Regions from separate parts of the Homo sapiens genome. Here region 1 is linked to region 2. The links are contacts of gene promoters, found by promoter capture Hi-C in blood cells and fetal thymus (Javierre and others, 2016). All regions are on one chromosome and are shown on one strand. The core of a region is centred on a gene start or on the middle of the fragment in contact, and the rest is flanking DNA. Distances in the headings are between cores, read along the strand shown. Region 1 overlaps LOC124904486 (a long non-coding RNA gene). Region 2 holds the start of ADORA1 (adenosine A1 receptor).

Evidence for each region. Contacts are between HindIII fragments. The CHiCAGO score rates a contact against its expected background, and 5 or more counts as called.
Region 1: a fragment that was not itself captured here is called in contact with the fragment with the promoter of ADORA1 in region 2 in 3 of 17 cell types (M1 macrophages, M0 macrophages and M2 macrophages); the score reaches 10.8 in M1 macrophages.

The regions. Positions count from the first base shown.
Region 1 is chr1:203,266,492-203,271,640 of GRCh38, forward strand. It overlaps LOC124904486 (a long non-coding RNA gene), which reads right to left. Exons shown (of 2, transcript XR_007066798.1): 2 at 623-5,149. Among named protein-coding and RNA genes, the nearest start is that of LINC01353, 18 kb to the right of the region's middle. The HindIII fragment of the contact is 1,041 bases long and covers 2,581-3,621 here.
Region 2 is chr1:203,123,945-203,129,318 of GRCh38, forward strand. It overlaps ADORA1 (adenosine A1 receptor), which reads left to right and starts at 3,782. Exons shown (of 4, transcript NM_000674.3): 1 at 3,782-3,984; 2 at 4,334-4,488; 3 at 4,841-5,238. The coding sequence starts at 4,898. RefSeq lists an enhancer at 3,506-4,486. The HindIII fragment of the contact is 5,732 bases long and covers 1,325-5,374 here.

The DNA.
Region 1 (5,149 bases), core at 1,851-4,350, 140 kb after region 2:
TCTTAGTACAGAACAAAATGGAGTCTCCTATGTCTACTTCTTTCTACACAGACACAGTAACAATCTGATCTCTCTTTTTCCCCACATTTCCCCCTTTTCTATTCGACAAAACCGCCATCGTCATCATGGCCCATTCTCAATGAGCTGTTGGGTACACCTCCCAGACGGGGTGGCAGCTGAGCAGAGGGGCTCCTCACTTCCCAGACGTGGCGGCCCGGCAGAGGGGCCCCCCACCCCCCAGACGGGGCGGCCGGGCAGAGGAGCCCCCCACCTCCCAGATGGGGCGGCTGCCGGGCGGGGGCGCCCCCCCATCTCCCAGAAGGGGCGGCTGGCCCGGGTAATTTTTTGTATTTTAGTAGAGACGGGGTTTCACCGTGTGGCGTAGGCTGGTCTCGAACTGGTGAGCTGAGGCCATCTGCCCGCCTTGGCCTCCCAAAGTGCTGGGATTACAGGCGTGAGCCACCGCGCCCGGCCTAAATGTCTTAACATCAAGAATAAGGCCATATCGATCAATAAGATACATGCATACTATTTTGCCACCTCTCACTTTTTATTAATAGTATACTCTTTCTTTGCTACCTCCCAGTTTTTGTCAAAGTAAATTGTGATACAAAAACCCCAATTTATAATCATGAAATATTTATTATATTTAATTTTAATAATAATGATTAGTTTCATATTATATTAATTATAATTATTTCGTTCATTTAGTTTTATTGATTTGATTGTTCTTTGCCTTTTCTTTTACATTTTTTCTGTTGAATTATTTATTTTGATTCGTTTCTTAGCTGGCAGGACTATGTCCTCAAGTACTATTTTTCAAAAAGGGCTTATAGAAGAGCTCTCCCATCCTCAGTGGAGTTGGCTAACATCCTGTACCAGTTACCAGTTTATTACTCTCTGGCTCCAAACGTTTCTCCCTTGCCAGCGGGCACAGTGTTAAACTGTGTCAGTAGAGGGCGCTAGAGGACAGAGAGAAGAAGAGACTTCTCTTGCGGTTTCTTTAAGCTTTCCTTCCTACTTGCTTTCGGGACTCTGAACCCCCGGGGTTCTCAGCTCAGTTTCAGGGCACTTCCGCAGGCATCTTCACGGCTAGTTCTGTGGGTGTCCCACTTAGTTTCCCAGTGGCGAGTTCAGCCGCACCGTCTTGGGTGGATTCCTGGTGGAGCCGACTTGACCCAGCCAGTTTCCTGCGAAGTCCCGCATGCGCACTTCCCCGGGGGCAGCTTCCCAGCAAGTTCTGCGTGAGTCCTAGGTGGCTTTGCCATGAGTTCAGCGCATCCCCCAACAGCAACTTCCGGAGGAATTTTGTGGGCACCCCAGCAGGGGGCTTCCAGCCCCTGAGCCGTGGCCTGCCGTTCTCTTCCCCACAATGTTCGCTCTCTTGACTGTGGCCCGGTTCTGTCCAGGGACAACCCAGAGAACTCTTCTGCCCTCAATGGGCTGCAACGCACTTTCTCCAGCAAGGACTGAACCCCAGTCTCGGAGAGCTAGGCTTCTTCACGTTCGTTCTTTCTTTTTGGGTTCTCCCCCACCCCTGCGAGATCATCTAACATTCCTCTTTATTCCCACTGCACCATTAATTTCTATCCTGACTGATTCACAACCCCGAGTTCCGAAGCAAGGGCAAGCTGTGGGGCGCTTCTTGCCGTCTCTACTCAAAACGGAAAAAGCTGGCCAGGCGCGGTGGCTCACGTCTGTAATCCCAGCACTTTGGGAGACTGAGACAGGAGGATCGCTTGAGCCCAGGAGTTCAAGATCAGTCTGGACAACGTAAGGAGACCCTGTCTCTTCAAATATATATATATATATATATATATATATATATACACACACACACACACACATATACATATGTGTATATATACATATATATGTGTGTATATATATACACATATATGTGTGTGTATATATGTATATATGTATATAATTATATATGTATATATGTGTATATATACGTATATAATTATATATACACACATATATGTGTATATATGTAAAATTAGCCAGGCATGGTGGTACGTACCTATGGTCTCAGCTACTCAGGAGGCTGAGGCAGGAGGATCGCCTGAGCCCTGGGGTGTTGAGGCTGTGGTGAGCTGTGATGGTGCCACTGCACTCCAGCCTGGGGCAGGGACTGAGACCCCATCTCAAAAAATAAAAATAAAAAGAATGGAAAGAACCAATGAAATCTTGATGCTATTAACACCTCTGAATATTTCACTGGTTTCTAGAATCCACACAAAACAGGAATCCTACAGAATGATGGCTTGCAGAGGACATTGTAACAGGGCAGTCAAACCAGTTGGAGAAGTGTGCTCTGTCCTATAAAAACGTGCTCCTTCCTGACGTCTACCCCATGTTGGTGGGCCCATGATCTCCTCCTAGACCTCTCAGCTGAAATCAGTCCTGTCCCTGTGTTTGGTGTCCTTCATACCCTCTCGTGGCTGCCTCCCTGCCACGGCCCTGGCTCAGGCCCTGGTCACCTTGCCTAGGGTAGTGGCTTCCCTGGGAATGCCATCTCCACTCAATACTCCTTCTGGTGCTAGAGTGCCCTGCTCAAGGCCTCACCTCCCACGAAGCTTCCTGAACAGCTTAACTCACTGTTTCTTCCTGTTCTGCCCTCTCCTATTATCTGTGCAAATCTGAAGGCACTTTCTGCTCTGTCATGTACCTGATCTTTCCTGCCAGCCTAGACTGCTTTGATGAAAACTGCATCAGATAGCAGAGGAAACACTTATTTGTATGGAAGTGGCGTCCTCTGCTGGTAGAAGTATGTAATGACTGGAACTTTTCCCTAGCTGTGTAAAGGACCCTCACTGCCCAAAGCTGAGACAACCAGTGATACCCAAGGAAACCCAGCTGCCCTTCTCTCTGCCCACCCCAGTCCCTAAGCATGTAAAATTCAATCCACTGACTCACTCACCAGATTTCCACACCTCACTATTACACTAAGATGTTCCTGATGCTCCAGTCTCATGGATAATGGCAATCTTTAACATTAATTGGATATGCACTGTATATGCCAGGCACTGGGCTAATCTCTTCATCTGTATTATATTATTTAACCCTCATAGCAACTTTGTACGGCAGACAAGTGGACCAGATTCCTTAAAAGCAGAGCCTGGGACAGATTTCATGCATATCTTCTTCTGTTGGGGAAGAACCCTCAGAAGAAAGAAAAGGAAGGAGAGTGGGGTGGGGAAGGAGGGAGCCAGGCTGTGGTGTCAGCTGTGGCTGAGCTGCGGCCTGATTTCATGGGGATCCCTGAAGCATGTGCTACACCAGAGTTCATCTTGTCTTGAGGTCGGGGACTGGCCTTTCCTGCCCCTGTGTCAGACAAGCATCGGCTGCAAGCCCCAAGTAAGGCAGCTTCCATTCCCGGGGAAGTCTCTGCAGAGGGAATAACTGTGAACTGTTACCAGCCAAACCTCACAGCAGCCGGTGGGCAGGGATGGAGGGTTGCACCAGACCAGTAAAGGGGATTTGGCTGGGCACTAATAGCAACCATGGTACTGTTATTTCTACTGTACAAATGCAGAATTATAATCTTCCAGGTTTGTAGATACTTTATAGATTTTGAGTGTTTTCATATTCATTACCTCATTCAATGTTACAGTAAGCTTGAGAGGTAGTGATCATGATCCCCACTTTATGAATGAGAGTGAGAAGTGGGAGACTTCCTCAGGATTGTCCAGCCAATAAATACCTTCTCTGTTTATAAATAGCGTCTTCTCAGATACATAGGCAGCTGTATTGGGTCCCAGTCCAACCTCTTCCCTGTGACATTCAGGCTCTGGTCGTTTACCAAGGATCTTACAGCCCTTTTAACTCAAAAGAGCCATGAAGCTGGCAACCTTCCTTGCTGAGACTAGGTACGAGGATACACCTCCTATCAGGTGAGGCCTTACCTTGCCTGCCTGACACTTTGCTGGGCTCAGAATGCTTCTCCAAATTCCCCCATGGAAAGAAGACACCCGGGCACTTCTCACCTGCTCCTGCTTCTGCAGTTCCCTTGGCAGTTTCCTTAGAGGTGTCCCAGCAAGCTAGAGTCTGTCAGAGGACATTGAGGGCCAGGCCAGAGAAGTTTAGAAAGAGTCCCAGGACTACCTGAGCACTGCCTTCACCTGCCACAGGGGTAGCTGTGCAGCCAGTCTTGTGGCAGAGGCTGGGGTTTCCTGGATCTTAGAAGTGTCACCTCTTCCACCCTCTCAGGGCCCTGGACTTTCGCCCTCAAGCTGCCTCTGGATCTAGCAAAGGCCCTGAGCCATCTTTGGAATGGATGAGTTCGAAAAGCTGCATTAGAGTGGCTCCCCTCCTTCAACGCCACCTCATCAGAGTTCTAAGGGATGCTTCACACCTAAGAGCTGATGAGGTACAGCAGGAGCACACAGGGGACCCAGAAACCTCGCATTGTGTTGAGAAACAGCTGACTGACTCAGGTTCAAATCCCCCACTCTATCACAGGGCATCTCAGTTAAGATGAGGTAGAAATGAGAGTAACAGAAAATTCACAACAGCAGCAATTGTGTTGTTATTGAGTGGCCCTTGCCCTCATGGTACAAGGTAGCACCTGCCTACCAAGTAGCAAAACAGAGGGAGGGACAAAGAAGAAGGAGCAGACAGCAGATGCACAACCTGTGTCTTAAGAAAGGTTCCCAGACACTGCTGCATAACGCGTCTACTTACTTCTCTTTGGCCAGAACTCAGTCATGTGACCACGCCTACCCACACAGGAGACTGGGAAATGCAGTCTTCATTCTGGGCAGCCATGTTTCCTGCTACAACTTTTCTTACCCTGATAAAATAGTAGAAAGTTATTGGAGACTAGCAGCTTCTACCACACTAGATTCTGGCCTCGGGCAAGTCTCATGGCCTCTCTAGGCTTGGAGATAATGCTATCTTACAACAAACAATTTGTATTAACTGAAGCCTCCGATGCAAAGGATCTAGCACAGAGCCTGGAATATACTATGCACAACCTCCCCTTCTCTGTTCCTGCCTCCAGATATTCTGAAGTGTGTGGCAGTAGCTCAAGTGCTCTCAAATGTGGCCACAGTTCCTGCAGCCCGTGTCTGAGTGCTTTCTCTATGCAAACTCACAGGATCACCCTGTAACTTCTTACCAGAACTTCTGAACCAGACCTCAG
Region 2 (5,374 bases), core at 2,532-5,031:
GAGACTATGGCTTTTTTATGCCTCTACCCACGATGCTCAGCTCACTGTCTGATACACAAAAGGGGCTCAAGAAATGTTTACCCAACAGAATAAATGAATGAATGATGATGAGATTAGGAAAGAAATGCGAAGGACAACCTTGCTTTAGGAGGTAGGAACAGTTCCATGCTGTCTGGAGGAACGGGAACTAGATGGCCTTGACCTACCCCATGCCTCCCCACCGCCTCACAAACACACAGGGAAACACGCAGCCTGTGTTCTTCCCGTGGGCCCAGTATCTGGCACAGAGAAGCCCTGACTGGGAAGAAGTGAGCTGGAAGGAGGGAGGGAGAAGGAGGCAGAGACCCAGGGTGCAAATCTGAGCAGAAGGAGGGTGGTAGAAAAGGAGAGGAAGGGAACTTCCAGGAAGTCACTGCAGGGGCAGACAGGCATGGTTATGGGCCCCTTGGGGGAAGGGCTAAGGGCTTTCCTGACACCCAGAAATCTTTTTGTCCCAAATGCCTGCTCTTATCCAACAGTTCTCCTCCTTGTGCACACACTGGCCAGAGCAATGCTGAAAAAACAAGACAGGGACCAAAATATCCTTCTGCCTGCTGGAAAGGACAGAGAAAAATTCTGAAACCCCCTCCAATCCCCAAGCTCTCCCCACAGGGCTGAGCCAAGCCTTAACAGCCAGTACTCCTTGCCTTCCTTCCTGGGCTCTGGAGGGGTGTGCTGGGATACTTCAGCCTCCTTGGGCAGCCCTTTCTGACCTGAGGAGTATAGCCCAATTTGGAGAGTTCCAGGGAGAAAAGAGCAGGGCTGCTCAGCAAGGTTCCCCTCACCCAGGAGTGCTTCCCCTTCAGCCCTCCCTCTTCCCCACCCACCTCTGCCCACAGTGGGGAGGCTGCAGGTGCAAGGGGCCAGTGGAGAAACCCAGGACAGGGGCTTAGGAAGAAAAGAAGTAGGATCAAGCGGTAAAAGGACCACAGGCGATCTTTACATTTACTGTGGCATTATCTCACCCCCTGAGTCACATGGAAAATAGAAGCTTTGCATTGGGCATCTTGGAGGGCACCTAAACTTGGTACCTGTGGGATTTGGTACCAACATTAGCATCCCTGGCTGTGCAGGGCAGATTTCATAATTTTGCATTCTCTTTCCCTTTCCACCCCCACGCTTCACTGGCCTGGTGCTGCCTACTTGCCTTTTTGATAAAATATCAGTGCTGGACGCTTTCCAAAAGCCAGCTCATTATGTTCTCATAACCATCCTACACCGAGGGGTATTCCTACACTGCTGTTACAGGTGGGGAAACCAAGGCTCAGCTTTTGAAGGCAGGTGAAGCTTGGAGGGTTGCATGGCTGCAGTGTGTGAGGGGACCCTGGTGTGGGGAGGGTCATCTTGTCTAAGGGTCCTGGACACACTGTGAAAGCCAGAGAGTTTTGACTCAGGATACATTCCAGACACCTTGGCTCCATCTGTTCTGCCTACAGCCTCCCTCATTGTCCTTTCCTCGTTATAGATCTGTGACCTTGCCTCTTCCTCTACTCGCCTCCATCACAAACTTCCCCTTCTCTCAGCCCTGCTCTCTGTGCCTCACAGGGGAGCTGGGAGTTAGAAGACTTCCAGGGGGAAGGACCAAGTTCTGTGGTCTCCATCTCAGCCCATCTCTCGCACCTTGGAATGGACTTACCAGCTGTTGGTGTAGGATGGGTAAACTGAGGCCAGGAGAGGAAAAGTGGCCTGCTTGAGGTCACGCAGCCAGTGAGTGGCAGAGTAGAGCCTAGAAGCCAGCTTCCAGCTCTTCTGACTCTCGGTCAAGTGCTCTTTTCACCGCACCAAATGACCCTGCTGCCCAGGAGATCTCAGCACCGACCCTCCTACCTCCGTGTCAAGCCAGAGGACTGAGGAGACCGTGTGCTTCCCCCAAGGCAGCTTTCTGGAATAGACCCTGCCTTGGCCAGTTCTGTTGTCAAATAGGCTGGTCTAATCCCTGAGGCTGGGAACAGGCAGGGGTGGAAGGATGGAGAAGATAAGGGAAGAAGATTTTGGCTTATTTTGCCCAGAACTGAGAAACAAATTACCTACAGGCATTATGCAAATGCATCCACTACATGTCAGCAACCTGTGGTAAGATGAATCGGAGGTGGGAGTGTATGTGTATGGGAGGTGGTGGTGGGTGCTCAGTTGCCCTCCAGAGCTGAAGATGCTGTCAATAGTTAGACAGGGTGACCCCACTCACCCATCCCCGTCCCCAAGCTGGGCCCATCTGGGTCTTCACAGTCTCTTCTGACATCTAGTTGAGTGACCATTGGGAAGCTGAGTGTAAACTGAGAGAGAAAGCCTTGAGCCAAAAATGGCTTAAGTCAAGCAAAGGGTGGAGAGGCAGGGGATGGTCGCAAAGGCCTGCATGTCTGGGTGGCAGGGGGAGTAGGCAGGACGTCAGGTGCTGTTGGGCGTGTTGACAAAGTCAGCAGGGGAAGTGCAAGGGGACGAGGAGGAAGGAGAGTTTACACTTCCTAATTTCTCCAACTAGCTTCTAGGGAAGGAATGTAATTTTGCTGTCTGAGGCACTGATTCCTTGCTCCCCCTAAAGGCAGAAATGGAAGTTATTTTTCCCCACAGAGGGCTTCCCCCTCCTCCTCAGAAGACTCAACTGCCCTTCCTCCCTGCCTCCCAGCTACCCAGGTTCCGGGTCCCACATCATTCCTCACTGTGATTCAGTGCAGCCCCCAATGGGAGCAACGTGCCCACCCTCCTCTGGGCAGAACCCTTTTCCTTGCATTCTGAGATCCAGTGAGGGGGGCAGTACCCCCAGAGGCCAGGTTGGGTTGTGGCTAGCTAACATTGGGGTCCCCAGCCTGACTCTCTTTGCCTTCCTAGAACCCTTGCCCAATACCCACAAACAAGGATTTCTCAGGTTGGGATCTCTGCGAGGCATCCATCCATGTCCAGGGTCTGGTCATTAGTTAATATCAGTGGACTGCCTAAACCGAAACTGGCAGAAGGTGGCCAGGGGAGGGGTCTGGACCCAGTGGAGAGAGTCAGGAGCCTGGGATTCTTATTTTGGTCCTGTTAGGATTTGCCCTGTGACCCTCCGGAAGTCCCTTGCTTCCCTGAGCCTGCTTCTTTATCTGTAACATGAGGGGATTGGACTGGATGCCTTATGGCTTAGCGCTGTGCTATGAAGAGGAAGAAGGAGGAAGGAAAAGGAGCGCAGAGCGGGTTACACTGCCAGGAGATCCTGGGAAGCTAGGTCACTTCCCTGAGCCTCAGCATCCTTATCTGCAAAATAGAAATTGCTAATAGACTAAAAGGCAATTCTGAAAGATGGATGAGAAAGGAATATAATGACTCAGGGTAGAGCCTGCAAAACAATATGGGATGAGAAGATGCAGGGACTGGTTTCATGGAGAGAGCAGGGTTTTAGGATTGGGGGAGGGTGCCAGGGCTACCGACTGCTTTGGGAGATCCCAGAGGGGGCATTCTGAAGTCCTGCAGAAGAGATGCTGTGCCGTGAGGGGTGAGGGGTCGCTGGAGGCCAGACCAGGGCTCCCAGGAGTCCTGCATTGAGAAGGGAGAGAGTGGACACAGGAAGGATGCGCCTCTGTCCAGTCCTGAGGCTGGGCGCACACACCAGGCCCTTCGAAAAGCTCACATTTTTTCCAGCTTTTCTCACCCAGTATCACTTCCTTTGTTAAGAGGAGGGGGTGGGGGAGGAGACGGAGGATGAGGAGGGAGGGGCTGGCGGGTGCCGCCGCCGCCCCCGCCCCCTCCCGGTGTGCGGAGCCCGATTGTCACTCAGCTCCTGCGCCGGGGGCGACAGAGCCGCAGGCGCCCGAGTCGAGTCCCAGCCAGCTACCATCCCTCTGGAGCTTACCGGCCGGCCTTGGCTTCCCCAGGAATCCCTGGAGCTAGCGGCTGCTGAAGGCGTCGAGGTGTGGGGGCACTTGGACAGAACAGTCAGGCAGCCGGGAGCTCTGCCAGCTTTGGTGACCTTGGGTAAGTCTGAGTCTCGGTTCACCCCTGGGGCTCCCCAATGGGGGTGCAGGAGAGGGTTGAAAGAAGAGACCGGAATGCCCCCTTGGGGCAGGCCATGGGCAAGGTTCCCCGACAGAGCTGGAACGGGACCAGAGGACTGCTAAGATCCAGGCACCAGACGGGTCTCAAGTGGGTGGGCGCAGGGCAGGTGCGGGCACGCTGGGGAATAGGGAGAAACGCCCCAGCCTTGTCCTGGGCTCCGTCCCCAGACCCACGTCTGCCACCCCAGTCCCAGGTGCGAAACAGGGGCGCTACCTCTTTAAAAGCGTCCGGGGCTGAGTCTCTGCCGTACCATGTGATTGCTTGAAAGGCCGGGCTGGGAGCGCTGCGGCGGGAGCCGGAGGACTATGAGCTGCCGCGCGTTGTCCAGAGCCCAGCCCAGCCCTACCGCGCGCGGCCCGGAGCTCTGTTCCCTGGAACTTTGGGCACTGCCTCTGGGACCCCTGCCGGCCAGCAGGCAGGATGGTGAGCTCCCTGCATCCTGTTCTGTGCACAGGGGTGGGCAGAGCCAGTCATGGGAGACCCCTCTGTGCGTGTGTCTGTGTGTGCGCGCGCGCTGGGAGCTGCCTCACACCTGATAAAAAAGCCAGTGGAGGAGTGAGCGCTGCTATTTTAAGTTGCTGAATGGAACCTCTGGGAATGATAAAGGGAAGGGACAAAGATTAGGCAGAGAAGGGTCCGGGTGCCCCTCCAGCCTGGGTAGGAGCTGCATGTGACAAGTGGGACACATCACAGGGTACCTGGAGTTCCAGGGCAGCCTGAGCTCCCTGCCCCTCCCAGACGGGTCTCCCCATCCCAGGCTTCCCTGACCACACAGGTGCTTGCCTCGTGCCCCTTGGTGCCCGTCTGCTGATGTGCCCAGCCTGTGCCCGCCATGCCGCCCTCCATCTCAGCTTTCCAGGCCGCCTACATCGGCATCGAGGTGCTCATCGCCCTGGTCTCTGTGCCCGGGAACGTGCTGGTGATCTGGGCGGTGAAGGTGAACCAGGCGCTGCGGGATGCCACCTTCTGCTTCATCGTGTCGCTGGCGGTGGCTGATGTGGCCGTGGGTGCCCTGGTCATCCCCCTCGCCATCCTCATCAACATTGGGCCACAGACCTACTTCCACACCTGCCTCATGGTTGCCTGTCCGGTCCTCATCCTCACCCAGAGCTCCATCCTGGCCCTGCTGGCAATTGCTGTGGACCGCTACCTCCGGGTCAAGATCCCTCTCCGGTGAGTCCACAGCGCCGAAGGTACTCGCAGCACCACATGATGGCTGGCTTGAGGGCCATCTAGAAAGGAAAAAAGGTAGAGCATAAGACCCCAAGTAAGCCAGATGTTCTTTGGGCCATCGTGCTCCAGTCCTCAC